Regions from separate parts of the Homo sapiens genome. Here all the other regions are linked to region 3. Evidence: promoter capture Hi-C in 16 types of primary human blood cells and fetal thymus (Javierre and others, 2016). All regions are on one chromosome and are shown on one strand. The core of a region is centred on a gene start or on the middle of the fragment in contact, and the rest is flanking DNA. Distances in the headings are between cores, read along the strand shown.

The links. Contacts are between HindIII fragments. The CHiCAGO score rates a contact against its expected background, and 5 or more counts as called.
Region 1: a contact is called between a fragment that was not itself captured here and the fragment with the promoter of NMT1 in region 3, in 1 of 17 cell types (neutrophils). The highest score is 6.1, in neutrophils.
Region 2: a contact is called between a fragment that was not itself captured here and the fragment with the promoter of NMT1 in region 3, in 1 of 17 cell types (neutrophils). The highest score is 5.8, in neutrophils.
Region 4: a fragment that was not itself captured here is called in contact with the fragment with the promoter of NMT1 in region 3 in 1 of 17 cell types (neutrophils); the score reaches 6.2 in neutrophils.

Annotation. Positions count from the first base shown.
Region 1 is chr17:45,410,816-45,413,608 of GRCh38, reverse strand. All of the region lies in intron 4 of ARHGAP27 (Rho GTPase activating protein 27), which reads left to right. Among named protein-coding and RNA genes, the nearest start is that of ARHGAP27, 21 kb to the left of the region's middle. RefSeq lists a silencer at 1,453-1,640 and an enhancer at 1,483-1,983. The HindIII fragment of the contact is 2,542 bases long and covers 247-2,788 here.
Region 2 is chr17:45,383,724-45,386,769 of GRCh38, reverse strand. No RefSeq gene overlaps it. Among named protein-coding and RNA genes, the nearest start is that of ARHGAP27, 48 kb to the left of the region's middle. RefSeq lists an enhancer at 924-1,891. The HindIII fragment of the contact is 6,215 bases long and covers 1-3,046 here.
Region 3 is chr17:45,059,646-45,062,601 of GRCh38, reverse strand. NMT1 (N-myristoyltransferase 1) reads right to left here and starts at 1,285. Exons shown (of 12, transcript NM_021079.5): 1 at 1,142-1,285. The coding sequence starts at 1,272. It also overlaps a transcript of DCAKD not described here. RefSeq lists enhancers at 845-924, 867-1,161, 1,015-1,374, 522-1,513, 1,475-1,654 and 1 more. The HindIII fragment of the contact is 9,198 bases long and covers 1-2,956 here.
Region 4 is chr17:45,320,822-45,323,846 of GRCh38, reverse strand. No RefSeq gene overlaps it. Among named protein-coding and RNA genes, the nearest start is that of MAP3K14, 5.3 kb to the right of the region's middle. The HindIII fragment of the contact is 3,763 bases long and covers 1-3,025 here.

The DNA of each region.
Region 1 (2,793 bases), core at 268-2,767, 350 kb before region 3:
GAAAAGCAGAAGTGCAGGCCTGCTTTCCCCCAATCCCCATGGGTGTGGGAACCCAAGGCCCGCTCAGTTCTTTCATAGAACCAGCCCTGTGACGGAGTAGGGTTGACAGCTCTGTTCTACACATGAAGAAACTGAGGCCCAGAAATTCAAGCAGCTGCTCAGCGAGAAGCTGAAGTAGAGTCTAGACAAGAGTCCAAGTCTCTGGTCTCCGGCTCCACTCTTTTTCCCTCTGAATCAATGGAAGCTTCTGCCCCAAGCCCAAGAAAAGGGTCTCACCTGAAACCGTTACATTTGGAATCTCACCCCACATCCATGCAATAAGATTACACTGAGTCAGCCGGGCTGCTCATGCCTGTAATCCCAGCATTTTGGGAGACCAAGGCGGCGGATCACTTGAGGTGAGGAGTTTGAGACCAGCCTGGCCAACACGATGAAACCCCATCTCTACTAAAAGTACAAAAATTAGCTGGGCATGGTGGCAGGCACCTGTAATCCTAGCTACTCAGGAAGCTGAGGCAGGAGAATCACTTGAGCCTGGGAGGCAGAGGTTGCAGTGAGCTGAGATCGAGCCACTGCACCCCAGCCTGGGTGACAGAGTGAGACTCCATTAAAAAAAAAAAAAAAAAAAAAAAAAAAAAAAAAAAAAGATTATACTGAGCCGTGGTGCCACACCTGGGAGGCACAGTCAAATCACCCAAGGAGGCTTAAAATTAAACACTTTCCCCAGGTCCCGGCCCAAACCACTTCCATCAGAATCTCAGAGGGCTGAGCTAGGCACAGTTCCCCAAAGCCTACTGAGGCCTGAGGCCCAGGATCCTGTGGGGTCACCCCCAGCTCCTCCGATCCTGCCCCTGGACATGTAGCTCTGGGCCAGGCCGGGATGGTTAAAGGGAGACCCAGTTTCTGTCCTGGAGAACATGTGTTTGGGGGAGGGACCTGTCGTGTGGACATGACTGAGCTCCTTGAGGCAAAGATCACCATTCCTTCTGGCTCTCCCTCCACCTGGCTTGGGTGGCACAGAGCAGACTCACTGAGTCAACAAAGGACACCATGTCCCCTCGCCAGCCCCTGAGCCAGTTCCTGGGCCAAGTCCTGGTTTGGAGGCGTTCATTTTGCCTCTAGCCCCAGAGGACTGGGTCTTCCTAGTGCACCTGCTCCTGCCCCAGCACTTCCTATGAGGGTTTGGGAGGGAAGAGTGAGGTCAGAGTGGGGAAAGGAGGGGTGTTGTGCAGCTGGTTTGTTCTAGAACCTCTCCTGACCCTCCCCCTTGTGCCTCTCAGAGGCATGAGGGTGTGGTGGAGGGAGGTGGACCCCTCTGGGGAGCCACTGTGGTCATCACCTCCTCTCACTGGGGGGAGGGAATCCGAGACAGGGCCTGAGAGCCAACTTCTGTGGCCAAGAGCAGGCAGGAACTGTGTGAGTTTGTTCACTCCCTATAGTTTGGGGCTGGAGCCCCCTGGGAGACCCCCATCATGGGGGCCCAGCTTCCTACTGGGGAAGAGAAGCAGGTGAGATGCCAGGTGAGTTGCTGGCTGCCCATTCTGCAGTCCCAGCCCTGACACTGACACTCCTGGCTCTGCCATAGGGAGTCCCTGCCCCCCATGCTACCTGCAGGGCAATGCTGAGGGCCTGAGTTCCACACCTGTCCTCTTCTCTCCCCTCTCCACCCAGCTCCTCCCTGGTGGCTCAGAGTTTCTGGCCTCTCTGGAATTTACAGAGGCTATTCCTGTCTCTGAGGCCTGGTTGCATAACCCTTGGTGACCTGTCATATGCACGCACACGTGTGTAGTGTGTGTGTGTGTGTGTGTGTGTGAGTCCTCATCCCTGGCCTCAGGGTGGGGACAGAGAGATGGGTCAGGTGTGTGATAAGCATGAGGCCTCCAGCCTTCTGTGATTCCTGCTGTCCTCCACCCTGATAGCGAGGAGGGGATTAGTCTACCCCTGGGGTCTGGGCTTCTGAGTCGGGTACAGGGGATGGGACACTGGTATGAGAGCTTTTGTGGGCAGAGCAGGGCATGGGGCCCAGTCTTGCTCCTAGTGTGATCTCTACAAGTGTCTCGTGCCCCACATTCACACTGTGCCTGGCTCTGCTTGGGGTCCTTGTCCCCAGCCCACAGTGGGTACAGGAGAAGAGGGGCTGAGAGACATGGCAGGGGAGAAAAAGAGATCCAGGGTGGGGGCCAGAGGAGGAAGAATGGGCCTAGAGTGGAAGGGTGGGGGTCAGAGCCTGACCAGGAAAGGAGGTGGACTTCAGCAGGGGTGGGCTGGTGGGCTTAGTGCTGCCTGGCCCTTAAGCCTGGGGAGGAAGCACTTCTAAGGGAGGAGGGAAGACAAGATGGACCCATGGGCTCAGAGGAGGGGCTGTAACTTCTTACTCAGGGCATGTGTCCACTGTGCGTGGCTGGGGTCTGTCATCCCCACACGAGGGGGTGAAGGGAAGAGAGGCCAGGAAGAAGATTTAACCTTCCTCCTGGAAGAAGCTGGTGCCTGGCCCTCTTCTCTGGGTCCTTAGAGAGGAGGGGACAGGCACGGGCATACTTGTACACGTATGTGGACACGCAAGTGAGAGTGGGCACATGTGGGCATGCAGGCGTGGGAGGGCATATGCATCTTGGTGACCGAGTCTGGAGGAGACAGACCCAGGTGGTCAGGCGGGCAGATAGTGATGTGGTCAGAATCCTTCCTGTCCTCCTCGGGGCTGGCACAGTCCAGATGCCAGCTCCCTGTGATATCACATCTGCCCAGACCCCTTCCTCTTTGGGAACTCTTCCCCTCCCCCCCACAAGCTTCCTC
Region 2 (3,046 bases), core at 366-2,865, 320 kb before region 3:
GACCCACTGGTATCAACAAGAGAGGCCCTGCCGGGTAGAACTGGAGCTGTGAGTGAGGTACAGCCCCCTGTGTCCTCCAAGAGTGGATATTCTTGTTTCGTTGCCAGTCTCAGAGCAGGGCTTGGTATATTAAGAGAGATGGCAAATGTCATTCCAGAAGAAAGGGCCAGCCCATGAAGGGCTCTGTGCCCTGCTGGGAGAATGGACTTCATCCTTTATGGCCCAGTGGGTGCCACTAGGTGATGACCAGGTGGACAATATGGCCAGAGATGCTTTTCCGTTTTTATAAACTTTTTATTTTGAAAGAATTATTGACTTACAAGAAGTTACATAAATAGTACAGACAGGCCTGGTGCAGCCAGCACCTGGCTTCCCCTGGTGGTGCCGTCTTACGTAACCATTGTGCCTTATCAAAACCAGGAAAGCGATGTAACTAACTATAGACCTTGCTTGATTTCACCATTCTTTGCATGCACTCATTTTTGTTTGTCTTTGTGTATAATTCCATGACATTTTATCACATGCATAGATTCATGTATAGCCAGCACTGCAGCAACCAAGATACAGAATGTTCCATCATCTCAAAAGAAACTTCTTATGCTTCCCTTTCCACTGACATCCTCCCGCTCCTTCCCTAATCCCTGGCAACCTTGTCTTTATCCATCTCTATAATTTGCTTCTTTTGAGAATGTTAATGGATGGAAATATACAGTATGCAACCTTGCAAGGCTGGCTTTTTGCACTCTGCATAATGCCCTTAGGATCCATTCAAGTCATTGTTGGGTATCAATAGTTCATTACTTGTTACTCCTGAGTGGTATCCTACAAATATGCTTTTAAAGAGATTTTCCCAGCTGTGGCTGAAGGAGGGAGGGAGGGGACCAATTAGGAAGCTGCTGGTGTTCAAGGAAATATCACAAGACTTCCGTCCTGGCCCAGGCCCCACACCACCTCTCTGCAGCCTGGAATTGGCCCTAGAAGTGTTCAGGCTGGACCTCACTTCAGACAGGGTTGAAGCGTGAGGGCTTGGGAGTCTTGAAGCTGAACTGCCAGTAGGGGGCGCCAGAGGCCTTTTGCCCAAGGGGCGATTCCGAGGCGGGAACAGCAGGGAGTGTTAGAGGGAGTTTTGGGCTGCTATGCATGGGGCCAAGAGAATCCTGAAGTCTTCGCCCTCTCTTGACCCCAGCCCCCATGTTTCCGGCCAATCCTGAGCTTCGAGGCTGGGGGATGAGGCTGATGACATGTAGTCGAGGAGAAGGTGAGGTGAGGCTTGGACCAGGAAGAGGAGGTCTGGGGTCAGGCAGAGGGAGGTCCCTGTGGGCCTGGGGTTCCCCATCAGAGGGCGGATCTGGGCTCAGGCCACCGGGCCGGGCATTGGCACCTCTGCCTCACCCATCCTTCCCATCCTCAGCAACCAAGGATTCTCCCAAGAGAAGTCTCCCCAGACCCTGGAGCGTGTGCTAGCCCCTCTTTGCTCCCACGCTCTATACCTGGCTCTTGCCTCCCTGCAAGATGCCTTTCCAGATGCCCCACCGCCCCCCACTCAGTGCCTTACCCAGCATGCTGTGGGCTGCGTGGATCCCGCACTTGTGCAGGGCGCAGAGTGGGCGCTTACTGAGCTCTGGCACCTGCTAAGTGCTGAGGAGCCAGGAAGAGGTGCTCTGTCCCCAGTATCCCAGGGGCCTTGGCATTCAGCCGCCTCTGACTCCTGTCTGCTTGGTGGAACATTCCTGAGCAGCAGGTACTCTCCTCAAAACCCGCACGGGTCCTCCATGCCCTTCAGAGCTCAGCTCACTCTCCCTGTGCGATCTTTGCCCCGTCCTCGGCTCCTTGTCCTCTGGCTGACTCTCTCCGCTCTCACGCCAATGCCCAGCCTCCCGGGATGCCTCTGCTGTCCGTGCAAGCCATGTGGGTCTCGCCGCCACGCCCTCGCCCCCATTCTCTGCCTCCTGCCCCACCACCACGAAGCCTTCCCCAGGGCCTTGCATATATCAGGCTTAAAAAATGTGAGCCCCCATCATCTGTGCCCCCACAATGCATGGGCATGTGGACTTCGTAATAGAATCTCCTTCATGTGGCCTGGTCTCGTCACTGGCACACAACACACCTGTCACCTCCAGAGGCTTCTCATTCATTTCTGATCACCCAGAGCTTGGCACACAGAAGGGGTCAAGTGAAGTTAGATTGAATAAATGCATGAATGTGCCAGTTGTCATATCTTTGAAGCCTCCTCCTGTGACTGGTTGCCCCTCTGATTGCTCCTTGGTGGTTTTCCTTGTGGGCACTCGTTCCCCTGTGGCCTGTAAATGCTGGCAGGCCGCCCTCTCCTCTGCTCAGCTCACTCTGCCCCCTCCCTAGGCAAGCTCACCCATCCAGCCAGCTGTAACTGCTGCCCTTCTGCTGCCAGGCCCCAAATCCATTCCACAGCCTGGAGCCCTGAGCCCCAGGCATACCTCCCACCACTTCCTCTTTATTTGCTTGTCTTTATCTGTCCTTCCCCCATCTGTCTTTCCCACAAACGTTAAGCTCCATTACAGCAGGAATTTTGTCTGTCTGATGGACAGCTGCATGCCTGGTGCCAGCACATGTTCGGTAAATATGAATGAATGAATGAACGAATGAATGAATGAATGAATGAATCTCCCTCTGAGGTCATGTAAACACTTCCAATTCAATGTATCCCAGATTGATTTTGTCATCTCCTCTCTCCCCATAATTTCCTTCTCCTGTCTTTGCTACCTCTCTCCTCCCAGTCCCCCAGTTTAGAAATCCCAGTGTTGGCTGGGCACGGTGGCTCACGCCTGTAATCCCAGCACTTTGGGAGGCCGAGGCAGGTGGATCATGAGGTCAGGAGATCGAGACCATCCTGGCTAACACGATGAAACCCCGTCTCTACTAAAAATACAAAAAATTAGCCGGGAGTGGTGGCGGGCACCTGTAGTCCCAGCTACTCAGGAGGTTGAGGCAGGAGAATGGTGTGAACCTGGGAGGTGGAGCTTGCAGTGAGCGGAGATCGTGCCACTGCACTCCAGCCTGGGTGACAGAG
Region 3 (2,956 bases), core at 36-2,535:
GTATCTAAGCATACCTAAACATAGAAAGGATACAATAAAAATATGTACTATAATCTTGTGGGACCATCTCTTCTACGCAGTCCTTGGTCTTTATACCTTTATATCTGCACTGCCACCAATACTGCGAATAACAAGCTGGCTACGAAAATCAGACTACCTCAGACTCAGCAAGTTATACACCCAAAAATCTCTCACGACTTTCAGTTTAAAAATATATCTACAAATATAGACAGGAAGATGGGGAGAGACAGCGTGAGTGCCAGTGCCAGGCACTAACCATGTGAAGAAAGATGAATAAGCTGTGGCTTACAGAAGTAAAAACTAATTTGGGAAAAGAATTCAACATTCAAATGCCTGGTGTGTTTCTTCATCCCTAGGAACAAATAGTAACTAATGGCAAGACCCTAAAGTACAGGATAGGCAGTATGGAGCCCGAGGATTCCAAATACTCTCCAAGAAACAACATCGCTCATTTCTTGAAGCCTGGGGCTGCTCTGCAAAGGTAACAAGGCAAAGATGTTCGAAGACTTAATTATATTAATATATCGTTCAGGATACTTATGGATTATTTGGAGCAATGGAAACTATGTAAATCAAAGCATTACCATACCGTTAATTACATAGGTTTATAAGGTGAGTTTATATTTTGGGATTCTCTGGTAGTGATATTTTACAATATAATTATACATACAGTTTGTATAGTCTGATGAGTTTCCTCACTGAGGGTGAACTGCTGCGAAATGTTTTATGATTCGTTTATTGCTAGTCACGTTGTTCAAACAACACGTCTATAAGTAACGTTCCCTTTGAACTGTACTGTTACTAGACTGTCCTGTGTTGTACCATCGAAAACCATCGTCCAACATGCTCTTTTCCCAGGAATGGCCTGAAGCACACGAGTGGAACACTGCATAGAACTTTTATATAATAAAAGTACTGAACGTCTCCGGCCCTTAATATCCAGAGCACCCACCCTTGGTAAATGACAAAGGCAATAACCAATCGCCAGGCAGAATCCTAGTGACTTAGCCAATAAGAACATGAGGGTGGGGCTAGACTAAGCTCCCGGTGACTTCCCCGCACCCCAGAGACCCAGGTTGTGGGAGGCTGGACGGGAATTGGACTCCGAGGATTTCGTTACCCCCGGTTGTAGCTGTTGTCCTCCTCATTCTCGCAATCGCTGCAGTGCTCATGGCCGTTCCCGTTCCCTTCCATCATCTGCGGCAGCGGAGGTGCCGGCGGCTTCACTGCTGTCTCACTCTCGTCCGCCATCTTGAGTTGCGAGAGCAGGGCTCCGCGCCCCACTACATGGGGGGTTCCTATTGGACAAGGGGAATTTGCGCTGCATTCTGGGTTTTGTAGTTTTTCTGGCGAAGCGAGCTGCCACTAGGAGCGACTCTTTCCCAGGAAACTGACTACAATACCCAGGAATCACGAGGGACGGCTCCGGTCGGATTAAGAGGCGGGGCCACTGATACCCGGAAGCCTAGGCATTCGGCCACGCTTTGAGGAAAGAAGGGGCGCAAGGTTGGTGGGACCGACCCTTGGGAACCGGGCGGCCGCCTGGCATGATGGGAGTTGTAGTTCGATGCTGGTTTAGGGTTTCAGGCGTGGAGGTTCCAAAATCCGAGGTTTGATTTCAGCCTGCCCTTGCCAGTGCCTGGGCCGCTGGGAGCCGTTATTGGCTGCCGTTAAGGACCGTTACGTTTCCCGGGTAAGTGAAAGGGCCTGAGGCCCGCGGGTGCTACCTGCCTGGAGCCGGAATGCCCCAGGCCTTCTTAGAGTGGGCTTTTCCGCAAGAAGCCTAGTTGACTCCTGGCCGCCTTCCTCACTCGGGAGTCTGGGCAACCTGCGGTCATTGGCAGTTCAAGGTCTCATGAGAGGCAGTGGATTTTTTTGTGCGAAGCACTGACCCTAAGCCAGGAGACCACACTGCTAGGGAGGCAGGGCTCGCCGCCTCATCTTGGCCTCCAGGTACTTATCTTCGCCAAGCTCTTTCGCGCACACGTGGTCCCTTTAATTCCCCACAAGAATTTTCCACAACGACCCTTTTTTTCTTTTCTTTTCTTTCTTTCTTTCTTTTTTCTTTTTTAAATACGGCCGCCTTCTGTCGCCCAGGCTGGAGCGCAATGGCTCAAGATCACAGCTCACTGCAATCAAGGTATCCTCCCACCTCAGCCTCCCAAGTACCTAGGACTATAGGCATGAGCCACCACACCCGGATAATTTATATATTTTTTGTAGAGACGAGGGTCTCGCCTTGTTGCCCAGGCTGGTCTCGAACTCCTGGCCTCTAAGGATCTTCCTACCCCAACCCCGCAAAGTGCTGGGATTACAGACGTGAGCCACGGCACCCAGCCCACATCAACTCTTTCTTTAATAAGTGCCAGACTCTGTAGTAAGGCATTTCGTACATTATCTCATTTAATCCTCTCAACAAGTCTACAATATAGGTCCTATTATTATTATTCAACCTTTGTTTTGTTTTGTTTTGTTTTGAGACGGAGTCTCTCTCTGACTCCCAGGCTGGAGTGCAGTGGTGCGATCTCGGCTCACTGCAACCTTCGCCTCCTGGGTTCAAGCGATTCTCTTGCCTCGGCCTCCTGAGTAGCTGGGATTAAAGGCGCACGCCACCACACCTGGCTAATTTTTGTATTTTTAGTAGAGACGGGGTTTCACCATGTTGGTCAGGCTGGTCTCGAACTCCTGACCTCGTGATCTGCCCATTTCGGCCTCCCAAAGTGCTGGGATTAGAGGTGTGAGCCACCGTACCTGGCCATATTGACCTTTTTGACAGATGAAAAAATGTGGCCCTGAGAGGTTGGTAAATTGCACAGTCACATAGCTGGTTAAGTGGCAAATCGGTATACAAATCCAGATCTGTGTGCCCCAGGCCCTCTGAATTCTTTGCCACCATAAAAGTCCCATTTTCTGATACACTATTCACTCAAGGAAA
Region 4 (3,025 bases), core at 136-2,635, 260 kb before region 3:
CTCTTCTCCTGCGGCTCCCAACCTCTGCAGCCTCAACCTCCACCTCCCAGGTCAAGCGATTCTCCTGCCTCAGCCTCCTGAGTAGCTGGGATTACACACGTCAGCCACCACGCCTGGCTAATTTTTGTATTTTTAGTAGAGACGGGGTTTCTCCATGTTGGCCAGGCTGATCCCAAACTCCTGACCTCAAGTGATCTGCCCGCCTTGGCCTCCCAAAGTGTTGGGATTACAGGCATGAGCCACTGCACCTGGCCTCCCTCTCCAATTCTTAACAATTGAGACCCTCCAAGTTTCAGGCCTAAGCCCCTCATTTCTCTACACTCTCTCCCTTGGAGTCCTCATCCACTACTGGCTGTATTGAATCATTCAACAAACAGTAGTTGAGCACCTATTTGGTGCCAGGCACTTGACTAGGCCCTGGTGCCGGAGAGAGATGAATGAGTCATGAGGCCTGGCCTCAACAGGGGAGATGGACATGGTAACGATAGATGTGGAGGGTAGAAGGAATCCCTGCGCTGGTCCCGGGCTGTGTGCTCCCCCATCCAGCCCTCACCTGCTCTGCTCTGCATTGCAAGTGACTGACCCCTCTAGGCTCCCAGGCCAGTAAGAGGCTCTGGCAGGAAACCCAAAGGTAGAAGGGAAGGAGAATGCAGGGATTTCTCCCCATCCCTCTCAGTCTTAGTGGTATCTGTGGAAGTGGTTGTGTCTTCTCTATGGTTTCAACTTCTTCCAAGTGACCCCAGTCCCAGCCTTTGATTACACTGCCCCAGTCCAGTCCCTCCAACCCAGGGGTCGCAGCTGGATTCCTGGTTACTTCCCCCATTGTCTGAAGAACTTCTCCATCCTTTCATCCCCTATGTAACCAATTTCCTGCATTCAATTCTATGTTTATTCTGTTTAAAAACTCAGAGGCCAGGCGAGGTGGCTCACACCTATAATCCCAGCACTTCGGGAGGCCGAGGCGGGTGGATCACCTGAGGTCAAGAGTTCAAGACCAGCCTGGCCAACATGGTGAAACCCCGTCTCTACTAAAAATACAAAAGAATTAGCCGAGTGTGGTGGCAGGCGCCTGTAATCCCAGCTACTCAGGAGGCTGAGACAGGAGAATTGCTTGAACCCGGGAGGTGGAGGTTGCAGTGAGTCAAGATCATGCCACTGCACTCCAGCGTGGGTGACAGAGTGAGACTTCATCTCAAAAATAAATAAATAAATAAAATAAAAATAAAAATTCAGAATGAGGCTGGGCTTAGAGGCTCATGCCTGTAATCCCAGTGCTTTGGGAGGCCAAGGCGGGAGAATCGTTTGAGGCCAGGAGATCAAGATCAGCCTGGGCAACACAGGGAGACCCCTACCTCTATCAAAATTAAAAAAAAAAAAACCCTCAAAATGGGTCCTGTTTTCCTGGCTGGATCCTACCTGACATGATACAGTCTCCCCATCTTCTTGCCACACTTGCAGTGGCTTAAGTCCTCATCTGTTGCTACCTGTTCAAGGAAGCTCCCTAAGGGCAGGGACTGGTCTGGAGGTTCCATGCTTCCTACCCAGAGCCTGACACAGAGGAGCTCAGTGCATCACATTTGTGGCTGGCTGCAGATAAGAAACTGAGACAAGGTCATCTACTAGGAGGCAGTTCATGGAGAGAAGGGCTGGTGAGCAGAAACCAGGCTGTAAGGAGCCCACTTGGGTGGGAGATGAAGCAGACTTTCAAGAAGTTTGGGAGTGAAGGGGGAAAGAAGGCTGGGCTAACAGTGCAGGGGAAAGCCAGAACTAGCAAGGTTTTGTTTGTTTGTTGTTTTTAGGGTGTCCTCGGCTTGACCTCATTTGTAGGTTGAAAGGAAGAAGCGAAAGGAGGGAGATATCGAAGGGCAGGAGATGCTGGGACATTGGGAGTGGAATGACAGGACCTATGCGATCTCTTAGGAAGATTCAATTCACCAGAAGGCTTGAGGATAGTGTGGAGAGGAGACTAGAGGTAAGCAGGTGAGTCTGGAGGGGAAAATCTCCAAATCAGGAAATGAGAAGAATTTGTGTCAAGCCAGGGCACCCTAAGAAGGCTCCAAAGTTGGGAGAGGAGGCTAGATCTCTGGAAGGTGTGCCCAGGACCTGTTCTTGTAAGGTCATCTTTGCCCAGTACCCTCCAGAGTCCCCTACCAGCCCTCACCTCCATTCTTTGCTGAAATTGGCACTCCTCTCCCCCTCACCCACATCGCCATGGCCCCTCCTCTTCTACAGCAGCTCTGTGGTTTGTGGTGCCCCCTGCCATCTCCCTATGTGGGGTTGGTTTGGTGGGCAGCAGGCACAGGCCAGAACCAGCACACAGTGGTGTGCCAGCAGGTGTTTAACAACCAACTCAGGATGGGTAGCCCTGATTTATACTGTTTGCCAACTTCCATGGTATAAATACTCCCAACATGTCCAATTTCAAGCTACCAATATGAGATCACTGATCACAAAATAGCTAGAGAGAATGGATCACACTTTGCCTGCATCCATTTATCCATTTCCCCTCCTGCCTCCCTGGCCTCTCCATAGACCTCAGCTAACAGCAGCAGTAGGGCAGGTCCAAGCTGGGGAGGGCAGCAACAGCACTGTGGCTGCAACTTCAGGCAGTCCCGACAGGGAAAGGAAAACTGCTCTCCTCCAGGAACATCCACCCTACAGTCCCCAGTCATCTCTTATCTCAGCCTCACATCTGAATTCTCAAGTGTAACTTCAGAATCTCACAGTAATTTGGGGCCTGAAATCCACATTCAGATGACTCATCAGCCACTTTCTCACTGGACATGGCTCAGCACCATAAACCATGCTGACTAAGGCAATAAAAACCAGAATATAATTTCCTTTCTTCCAAGGCAAACAGAAAAGGAAAAATGATCCAAGGATAGCATTCCTTCACTGATTTACTCACTCTTCAGCACTGTCCTAGAGAACTGATGGGCAATTGGCTCCCTGAACCCTGAAGTCTCTCTGCAGAGTCCGGCATGCAGGAGGGCAGGGGCTCTGAAGTCAGACATGGTTTGAATCC